3 separate regions of the Homo sapiens genome follow, and regions 1 and 3 are each linked to region 2. The links are contacts of gene promoters, found by promoter capture Hi-C in blood cells and fetal thymus (Javierre and others, 2016). All regions are on one chromosome and are shown on one strand. The core of a region is centred on a gene start or on the middle of the fragment in contact, and the rest is flanking DNA. Distances in the headings are between cores, read along the strand shown. Region 1 has its middle 630 kb from the start of EDIL3. Region 2 holds the start of EDIL3 (EGF like repeats and discoidin domains 3). Region 3 has its middle 660 kb from the start of EDIL3.

Region 1 (3,168 bases), core at 513-3,012, 630 kb before region 2:
ACTGGTTTAAAAATTCTTTTTCACTTTGGCTTTATAGTTCATAGTTGGGTAATTTTTTTTTTTTTTTTGTAAATTTTGGTATTCTTATTATCCTGTGTAAACTTATATGATACTATCTTTAGACATTATCTACATGATATTTGTATTTTCCAAAGACATTAACTACTCTAGTTATTCTCCTGAATGTGTGAAATCTGATAAATTACTGTATAACTGTTGTGACATAAGATAGAGCAAGACAATTTCACTTTCAGTAGTGTTCTGGTAAGCAGACTCTCCAAAGAGGGTCATTGGGTGAGTGAGCAGCAGCTCTGATTGGTAATATTTTCCATTTTCCATTATGTGAATACTCCCACTCCGGCAATTTAAAGCTTCCAAAGTGAAGTCACAAAATGAGTAGTTGGGATAGAATGTGGATAACAGCTTCTCCCAAGCCAGTTCTAGCTGACTTCAGCAAACCACCATTTTCTTCCCATCCACTTACATCCTTTGCATGCTGCCTGAGATTTCCATTGTTGGAATCAACAATGGAAAGTAATGCTTTCGTATTTTGGTATGAAGTAATGCTTTCTGAAATTTCTAATTAAATCAAATTATTATTTCGATAAAGGTGCATCATCTGTCTACTATGTTAGCTGTTAATATAATATTCCTGTCCCTAAAGTCCTCTGTCCCTAAAAAATACAAATAAATAGATTTTTATTTCTTTCTTACGGAAAAAGAAGAAAGAAAGCATGTACTCACAAAATATACTAGGAGGATAGCTAAATCTTCCCATAAGAAGTTTTATATAATTTACAAAGATTAAAAATGCACAGATATGTGTACAGTTTGAAATGTTTTGACAAATAAATATATGTGTACACGGATGTTATCTACAACCTTATGAAGAGATAGAAAATTTTTATCTTTCCAGAAAGTTCTTCCGGCTCCTTCCCAGTCAAACCTGGTCACCCTCAAGTAGAGGCCACTAACACAGGTGACTAGTTTTCATGTTATTCGAGAAATTCATTCACATAAATGTATTCATAGAATCATAAATACATGCACTTGAATCTGGTTTCTTGTAAAATATTTTTTTGAAGTTTAAACATGTTTTTGGGTACATTTGTTGTTTATTCCTTTTTACTGACATTGCATAATACTTATTTTTCTAAATTTCTTTCTTTTCAAAAGATAATTGATATGTTTCAAGCTTTGCCTATTATGAATATTAAGCTTCATATGAACATCCACATAATCTATTTGTTGATGTATGTTGTATTATCCTGAGTTAATTGAAATGGAATTCCTGGGTCATAGGGTAGGTTTATGTATAACTTTATTAAAAAATTCAAAGCCAGTTATCAAAGATTTTATACTATTTTACACTCCCATTGGTTGTACCGTATAGATGCTAACATCTGGTGATGTTAGTCTTTTTAGAACTATCCATTCTGGCAAGCCTGTAATATTTCATTGTAGTTTTAATTGGCATGACCCCGATGACTATTGACATGGATCATTTTTCAGATGCTTATTTAACATTTGTTCATTTCTATATCATATTTTGTAAAGTACTTCTTAAACTTTTTTAAGTATTTTTGTTGTTTTTATTTGTCTTATTAAGTTGTAGGGGTTCTACATATATTATGTAGATAGGTTTTTCATTACATAAATATATTATATTATTTCTATAATTTACCTATTCACTTCTAAACTGTACTTTTGATGAGATAAATTTTTACTATTTTTGTTGAAATACAATTTAGAATTTTTTTTAAGTTTGCCTTCTGTGGTCTTTTTAAGAAATATTCACAACTATGTTATGAAGATACAGTCATAATGTTGTATTCTATAAACTTTATAACTTTAGTTTAATATTTAGGTATATGATTCATCTCAAATTAATTTTTACAGTATATTTCAAGGTAGCAACAAATTTACTTTTTCCACATGGATATGAAGCTGTTCTACCAGTGTTTACTGAAAAAATGTTCTTGAACCGTTAAATTTCTTCCATGTATCTGTTAAAAATTGAATGACAGTATGAGTCTATTTCTTATATCTTTCAGGGAACCATTTATCTGTGCTTATGCTATTACAAGACTGTCTTGATTCCCATAGCTTTAGAGTAAGTCCCGAAATCAGATAGCATAATTTTCCCAATATCATTCTTTCTCAAGATTGTTTTATAAGGTAAAGACTTCACCTGATCTATTTCTTGTGTCAATCTGGTAATAATGTCTTTCAAGGAAATTTTCCATTTTATCCAAGATGTCAAATCTTTGACATAAATCTCTGATATAATCCTTTGTTAAGCTTGTAACAATCTGAAGTGACGTCCTTTTCTGAAGTGACGTCCTTTTCTCTTTCATTGCCTGTACTGGTAATTTTTCCCTCTTTTTGTCTAATTCATATTAATGGCTTATAAAATTGCTTACATCTTTTTAAATAACATTTTTTCTTTTATATCTTCTATTTGTTCATTTGCTATTTTCTTGATGGCCACACTTACTATTTTATTATTTATATCCTCTAAGTACTTTGTTTTAGCTGTGTGCTAAAACACAGTAATTTTTTTGCTGTTTTGCATTAAAGATTTTGCCAAATTTTATTGGCTTTTTAGGGTGGAACATGCATGATTGATTTCAAACCATTCTTATAATCTAATACAAAAATTTTCTCCAGCCACTACTTTTGTGTAACTTACAAAGTTTGACATGTTGTGTTTAAACTTCATTCAATTCAAAATTTTGTACTTTCCTTTTTAGTTTCTTAACACATGAGTTCTTTAGTGGCAGGTTACTTAAAGTTCAAATATTTGGGGAATGTAAAGATGAATTTTTGCTATTGACATCAAACAATATAATTAGAATTAAAATACATATGTTTGAAAATCAGAATATATTGCAATATATGGAAACTTCTTAAATGGCTCAACAAATGATCTGCCAGTGGATTTTCTATATGTAGTTATAAAGAATAACTATTCTGTTGTTTTATGATGTTTTGATCTATGTCAGTAAGGTTAGGTAGGTTTATTTTGTTCAATGTTTTTAAACTGCAGTGATTTTTCATCTATTTCTTTTAGAAATCACTGGAAGAGTGTTATTGAAATCTCCAAATTAATTTCTGTCTGCTTACTTCTGTATTTTGAATACCTGTCTTTACTTTCATATACATTTA
Region 2 (3,034 bases), core at 101-2,600:
GTTCTTTTTTTTCTTTCTTTCTTTCTTTTTTCCGTTGTTTGCTTGTCAGTTATACAATACCTTAAACCCTCCCTAGCAGTATTCAGCATTACGGTTCCATTCACCTCGCATTCTTCATTTCACTTAAAATTTGAAAAGGAAGGTAGAAATTTAAGTTTAAAGGACTCATCTCACCTTTAAAGGACTCATCCTTTAAAGGAGGCAGATGGAGATGTAGTTCCATGGCTAATTGCACTCTGTTATTCTTTTCTTAGTAGATTCACCTTTCAACTCTTTGCCTTCGAGAATGTTTCTCTTTCAATTTCTCTAGCTCTGTGTTTGTCTCTCTCCCTACCTCCCTCTCTAGAAGACAAAAAAAAAAAAAAAAGAAAAGAAAAAAGGAAAAGAAAAAAAAAAGAAAAAAAAGAAAAAAGAAGCCCTGTTTCATTTTGGTACCTGTAACTGCTGGAATTGGATCCATGTACAATAAGCAATCATTCTAACCGAAAAACAGAGAAGAAAGCACAATTGTAAGCCATGAGCTGTATTTTTGGTTCAATCACTTCCACTGCAAAAACCAGTCCATTTATTTTGGCGGATAGAAAGAAAATTTGATCCACCTTAGTGATGCTTCAAGGGTCTGTCTTTGCCTTTATGTTCTTGCACAGTTCCCAAACTTGCCCCACTTCTTCTCTGAAACAGATGTCCTGCTTAACGAGATGCATGTCTCCTACTCACTTCCACCCTTTTGCCCCCGTGAACAGATGAGCCCACAACCCTCTCTCCCCAGCCCTGGAGCTAACTAAATTGTAGACAGAGCAGCAGAGCAGCCCTGTCTTAGCTGATTAGGGTCTGGTTGCTGACTACGTTGCAGTTCCTGAGAAATACGGGGCAATTCACTTTGCAGGGTTCTGTCTCTCATGCAGTTTTGTGCCCCAAGAGTCACTTTTCAAAATCTCTTAACTTCTGTTCCTGGTTATACTGAGAAAGGAAGTTCAGGGGAATCCTTAACGTGGTTAATTATAAAGTCAGTGCTGGAATCCAAGGGACTCTCAGGCAGCAAGGGTGCAGCTCTTAACCCCACAGTCTCCAGCATGTGCGGAGAAGGTACAGGCAATGCAGGAACTTCAGAGGTGGTGGCAGGTGCTAGGTGCTAGGGTGTGGCTGCAGTTGTCTCCCTTTTCTCTTATAGCAGAAGGAGCTGAAAGAGGAGGGGAGGAGGGAGGAAGGAGAGAGAGAGCAAAAGAGAGACAGAGAGAGAGAGCAAAAGAGAGAGAGAGGAGGGGGAGACCCGGGGAGTGAATAACAGGGCGGGCGGAGGGCGGGCGGGCGCCGGGGGAGTGGGGAGCGCGCCTGCCAGGCTCAGACTCACACGCACGCCGCCTCTGTTTGTACACAGTGCGCTCCCGGCGGCCCGCTCGCTCCCCTCCAGCTCACGCTTCATTGTTCTCCAAGTCAGAAGCCCCGCAGCCGCCGCGCGGAGAACAGCGACAGCCGAGCGCCCGGTCCGCCTGTCTGCCGGTGGGTCTGCCTGCCCGCGCAGCAGACCCGGGGCGGCCGCGGGAGCCCGCGCCCCGCCCGCCGCGCCTCTGCCGGGACCCACCCGCAGCGGAGGGCTGAGCCCGCCGGCGGCTCCCCGGAGCTCACCCACCTCCGCGCGCCGGAGCGCAGGCAAAAGGGGAGGAAAGGCTCCTCTCTTTAGTCACCACTCTCGCCCTCTCCAAGAATTTGTTTAACAAAGCGCTGAGGAAAGAGAACGTCTTCTTGAATTCTTTAGTAGGGGCGGAGTCTGCTGCTGCCCTGCGCTGCCACCTCGGCTACACTGCCCTCCGCGACGACCCCTGACCAGCCGGGGTCACGTCCGGGAGACGGGATCATGAAGCGCTCGGTAGCCGTCTGGCTCTTGGTCGGGCTCAGCCTCGGTGTCCCCCAGTTCGGCAAAGGTAAGGCGTCGGGACCCGGACAGCTGGGTGAGGGATGGGCTGGGAGTCCCCTGAGAAACGCCGCGCAGGGGGCCGGAGGCGGTCCCTCCGGCGTGCCAAGGGTGGCGAGCGCCGCTGGCGGCGCGGAGGAGGCGTCGAGTCCTGGGTGCCCCGAGAAAGTGCTTGTAAAGTCTGAGCAGAGTGCGCGGGGCCGAGCGGGGAGAAGGGTGCGGGGTACCGGGGTGAGATACAGGAAAGAGGAGGACGGTGGGGAGCGGTAGAAGACAGCGTCCCCAGGACCAGCGACTCTGTGGCTCACTCGGCCACTGGGTCTCGGCGCAAACCCTCCCTAGGCAGTGCGGGCGATGCTGACTGCAGACGTCGGGCAGGGCTTTCGTGCGGGCGGGAGCGGGGGAAGCCAGTGCGCCCGGGCGTCAGCTAGTTGATGCGGGAAGAGGCTGGGGAGCTGCAGGGCCGTCCGCCCCCGGGTGCGGTGCTCTGGCGCAGGGCCTGGGCTGAGCCGTTCGCAAACCCAGACCCGGCGCTGGGCGTTTTGGCCGCGGGTGAGGTGGAGAGGAGTCTCACAGGTCACTTCAGCTTTCTCCTGCCTCCCCATCCCAGAGGAGCAGCATCGATTACAGCAAACCCCAGGAACCCGCCTCTCCTAGTCTGACCCCAGGGGCCTGGAGCTTAGCTGCGCACCCCCTCCGAGTACCAGTGTTAACTCTTGGTAATGGGGAATAGTGCGGGGCAAGCCACCCCTCGCGTCCCCGCACAGGAGCGGAAAAGTTGTGAGAGCTTGTAGGGTGATGCCTTCTGTGAATTGCACGAAAAAATAAAAACAGAAAAATAAAAATCAAATTAAATTAAAAAGAAAAAAGCATTTAAAAGAAAACGCAGGACTTCGACGAGTGTCCTGCTGGAGTAGTTTAGGCGACTTCCAGGTCCCCTGCGAGGTGCAGCTTGTCCATACAAACCCTTGTGCTGACCTGGGTCTCACCGCTGGCCGGGGCTGAAGTAGTCGCCGGAAAAGGGCAGCGGGGGCAGCAGGGTGTGTGGGGAGGCGAGTGGGAGCTGTGCCTGGGGGAGCTGTGCCACTCCTGCGCTCACAGATGCGGGCGGCCCCTTGTGAG
Region 3 (3,328 bases), core at 542-3,041, 660 kb before region 2:
TAAAAGGCTCAATTAATGCAAGAGAAGGCAGAAATAAAAGGGCGAAAATAGAAATAAATGGGAAAATGCAGGATGGCAAGTTATAATCTAATCATATCAATAATCTCTTTATGCATCAACAAACATCAGTTACAAAACAGAAATTGTCTGATCTATTTAAAAAGTTACAAAGCAAGAATCATCTATGTAATATTTATAAGAAAGCCACTTTAAGTATGAAAGCATAGATAGTATAAAACTAAAAGGATGGAGAAAAATGTTAATACAATACATTTAGTATCAGATGAATAGAGCTCTCTATATATGATATATATATATATATATATATATATTTAACTGCAAAACATCCTTTATTTTAACTTTTATTTTAGATTCAGGAGATACATGTGCAAGTTTGTTATCTGGGAGTATTGCATAATGCTGAAGTTTGGGGCACAAATGAGGCTGTCGCCCAAGTTTTTCAAACATTGCCCACCTCCCTCTTCCCATCTCTACTAGTACCCAGTTTCTATTGTTGCCACCTTTATGTCCATGAGTACCTAATGTTTAGCTTCTACTTGTAAGTGAGAACATGTGGTATATGCTTTTCTGTTTCTGTGTTAATTCTTACTTGCCACTCTGTGCCTTTTACATGGGGTGTATAGACCATTTACATTCAAGGTTAATATTAATATGTAAGGTTGTGATTCTCTCATGAAGTTGTTAGTTGGTTACCCTGTAGTTTCTATTGTATGGTTGCTTTATAGAGTCTGTGGGCTATGTAACTGTGGTTTTGTGGTAGCAGGCATTGTATTTTCATCTCCATGTTTAGAACTCCCTTAAGGATCTCCTGTAAGGCTGGCCTAGTGGTAGTGAATTCCCTTAGTGCTTGCTTGTCTGGAAAAGATTTTAATTCTTCTTTTCTTATGAAGCTTAGTTTGTTGTGATATGAAATTATTGGCTGGAGTTTCTTTTCTTTAAGAATGCTGATAAAGAAAATGTCTTTTCTTTGAAAATGCCCAATCTCTCAGCAAAAGTCTTTTGCTGAGAAATTTGCTGTTAGCCTGATACAGTTAATTTCATACATGATCTGACTTTTTTCTCAAGCCACATTTAAGATTTTTAATTTTTCTAACATTGACCTTGGGCAGTTTGATGACTATATACCTTTATGATGTTTGCTTTGTATAAAGTCTTGGAGGTGTTCTCCGGATTTCTTGTATCTGGATGCCTAACTCTACAGCAGGATTAGAGAAATTTTCTTTAATTACTCCCTCAAATATGTTTTCCAGGTTGTTGCATTTTTCCCCTTCTCTGTTAGAGATGACAATTACTCACAGATGTGGTAACTTTTCATAATCCCATATCTATCAAAGAGTTTGTTCAATTTGTAAATTCTTTTTTCTTTATTTTTGTCTGACTGAGTTAGTCTGAAAGACAGTCTTCAATCTCTGAAATTCTTTCTTCTACTTGGTCCATTTTATTGATTAAGCTTTTGATTGCATTTTGAAATTCCTTATGTCATTCTTTCAATTTAGAAGCTCTGATTGATCTTTTAAAAAATTTTTATCTTTTCCATAATTTCCTGGATTGCTTTAGACGTTATTTTTTCATGACTGTCAACCTTGTCCCAGATCTCATTGAGCTTCCTTGAAATCCATGCTTTCAATTCTTTCTCTATAATTTTTTTTGTTTTCATTTTGGTTAGGGATCATTGCTGGAAAGGTAGTGCAATCCTTTGATGGGGTCACTACATTAATATTTTTCATGGAGCCAGAATTCTTCTGCTGGTTCCTTCTCACCTGGAGATACTGGCACTTCTATTTTGTGTGTGTGTAATTATTTTCATGCAGGTAGATTTTTTTCTTGTTTCCTTTCTCTATATTATTATTATTATTATTTTATTTCCCCTTGTGTCCCCCCCACCTCCAGGAGGTGTGACTGTAGAGAATGTTGCATAGAATCTTTTTATTACACTTTGCTTCTATAGCCCTATGAACTTTTGTCAGCAGGTTTTATACTGGGCTGTGAAGTTTAACATATAAACCAGTAGGTGGTGCTTATAGGCAAGAGCTAGATGTAGCCAATGCAGCTGGGTACGTACTTGATCCTTGTTTACTGGGAGAAGCTTTCTGTTGCCTCAGGCAATGGGCTGATTCATAAAGTGCATGGTGGTCTAAGCACCCTGTTCAGCCCTGAGGAGGCAGACCAAATGGGTGGGCCTGATTGAATAGGTCTGTGTACAGGTCTGCACATGGCAGACACAAGCACCACCATGGGAGAATATAGTGGGTGGCCACAAGGCACCAAGAGATCAAGAGATGTGTGTAGCATGGAGCTGGGAAACCACTTTAGCCTCAAATTCCCTGCATGGGGATGAAGGGTGGCCTAAACTCCTAATCCAAGAGGGTGGGGGCTCTAGATGCCTGGAGATTTGCTTGGGTATTAAGCAGACAGAACTCTCCTTCACCAGGATCTCTACACAGGAAGGGTAGGATTGCTCAGGCTTCTGTTCCAGGCAAGCAGGTGCTCTGAGTGCCTGGAGATCTGCCTGGGCATAGAGTGGAGATCTGCCACAAGATGACCACATAGGAAGAGGAGGGCAACTCAGGCTGCTGAACTAGGCAAGCAGATACTCTGAATGCCTGGAGATCTGCCTGGGAGTACAGCAGAGAGCCGCCTCCCCAGCCTCAACCTCACACCAGGATCTCTGAACAGGAAGAGTTGCGTGGCTCAGTCTGCTGGCTGACCTGGTCCTCTGAATGCCTGGGGATATGCCTGGGAGTGGAGTAGAGAAGGCCTTGCTGCACCGTGATCTATGTCCTGGAAAGATAGGTGACTCAAAGTGTAGATCTAGCACAGCAGGTGCTACAATTGTCTGGAGATCTGCCCGAGTGTGAAGCAGAGAGGGCCTCCCTGCACTAAGATCTCTACACAGGAAGGGTGGCATGGGTCATTCCACTGATCCAAGTGAGTGAGTGTTCCAAATGCCTGGAGATCTGCCTACTTGTGGAACAGAGAGAGCCCTGCTGCACAATGATCTATTTCCAGTAAGAGTGGGGTGGTTTTGGCCACCAGTCCAGGAAAGTGGATGTTCCAAATGCTTGGATTTCTGCCTAAGGGGTCCCACTGCACCACAATCTTAGGTGAGCAGGCCAGGTCACCGAGCAATAGCATGTGAAGACAGATTGCTGGTCACCAATCTGACCTTGGTTGCAAGTCTCATTGCTCAGGAGAAACTGCAACTATGGCTCCTCCCTTCTTGCCCCAGGCTTGTGACAGGGGAGAGCATGATTTCTACTGCTAAGGTGCTTTCCACAATTTTTGCTGTGTAGGCTTTTATCCTGCT

The links. The method cuts DNA at HindIII sites, captures the fragments that hold promoters and counts their contacts. A CHiCAGO score of 5 or more calls a contact.
Region 1: a contact is called between a fragment that was not itself captured here and the fragment with the promoter of EDIL3 in region 2, in 2 of 17 cell types (monocytes and M2 macrophages). The highest score is 6.5, in monocytes.
Region 3: a contact is called between a fragment that was not itself captured here and the fragment with the promoter of EDIL3 in region 2, in 1 of 17 cell types (megakaryocytes). The highest score is 5.8, in megakaryocytes.

What each region holds. Positions count from the first base shown.
Region 1 is chr5:85,009,321-85,012,488 of GRCh38, reverse strand. No RefSeq gene overlaps it. Among named protein-coding and RNA genes, the nearest start is that of EDIL3, 630 kb to the right of the region's middle. The HindIII fragment of the contact is 1,083 bases long and covers 1,221-2,303 here.
Region 2 is chr5:84,383,196-84,386,229 of GRCh38, reverse strand. It overlaps EDIL3 (EGF like repeats and discoidin domains 3), which reads left to right and starts at 1,350. Exons shown (of 11, transcript NM_005711.5): 1 at 1,350-1,922. The coding sequence starts at 1,856. All of the region lies in intron 1 of EDIL3-DT (EDIL3 divergent transcript), which reads right to left. The HindIII fragment of the contact is 6,424 bases long and covers 1-3,034 here.
Region 3 is chr5:85,048,042-85,051,369 of GRCh38, reverse strand. No RefSeq gene overlaps it. Among named protein-coding and RNA genes, the nearest start is that of EDIL3, 660 kb to the right of the region's middle. The HindIII fragment of the contact is 636 bases long and covers 1,474-2,109 here.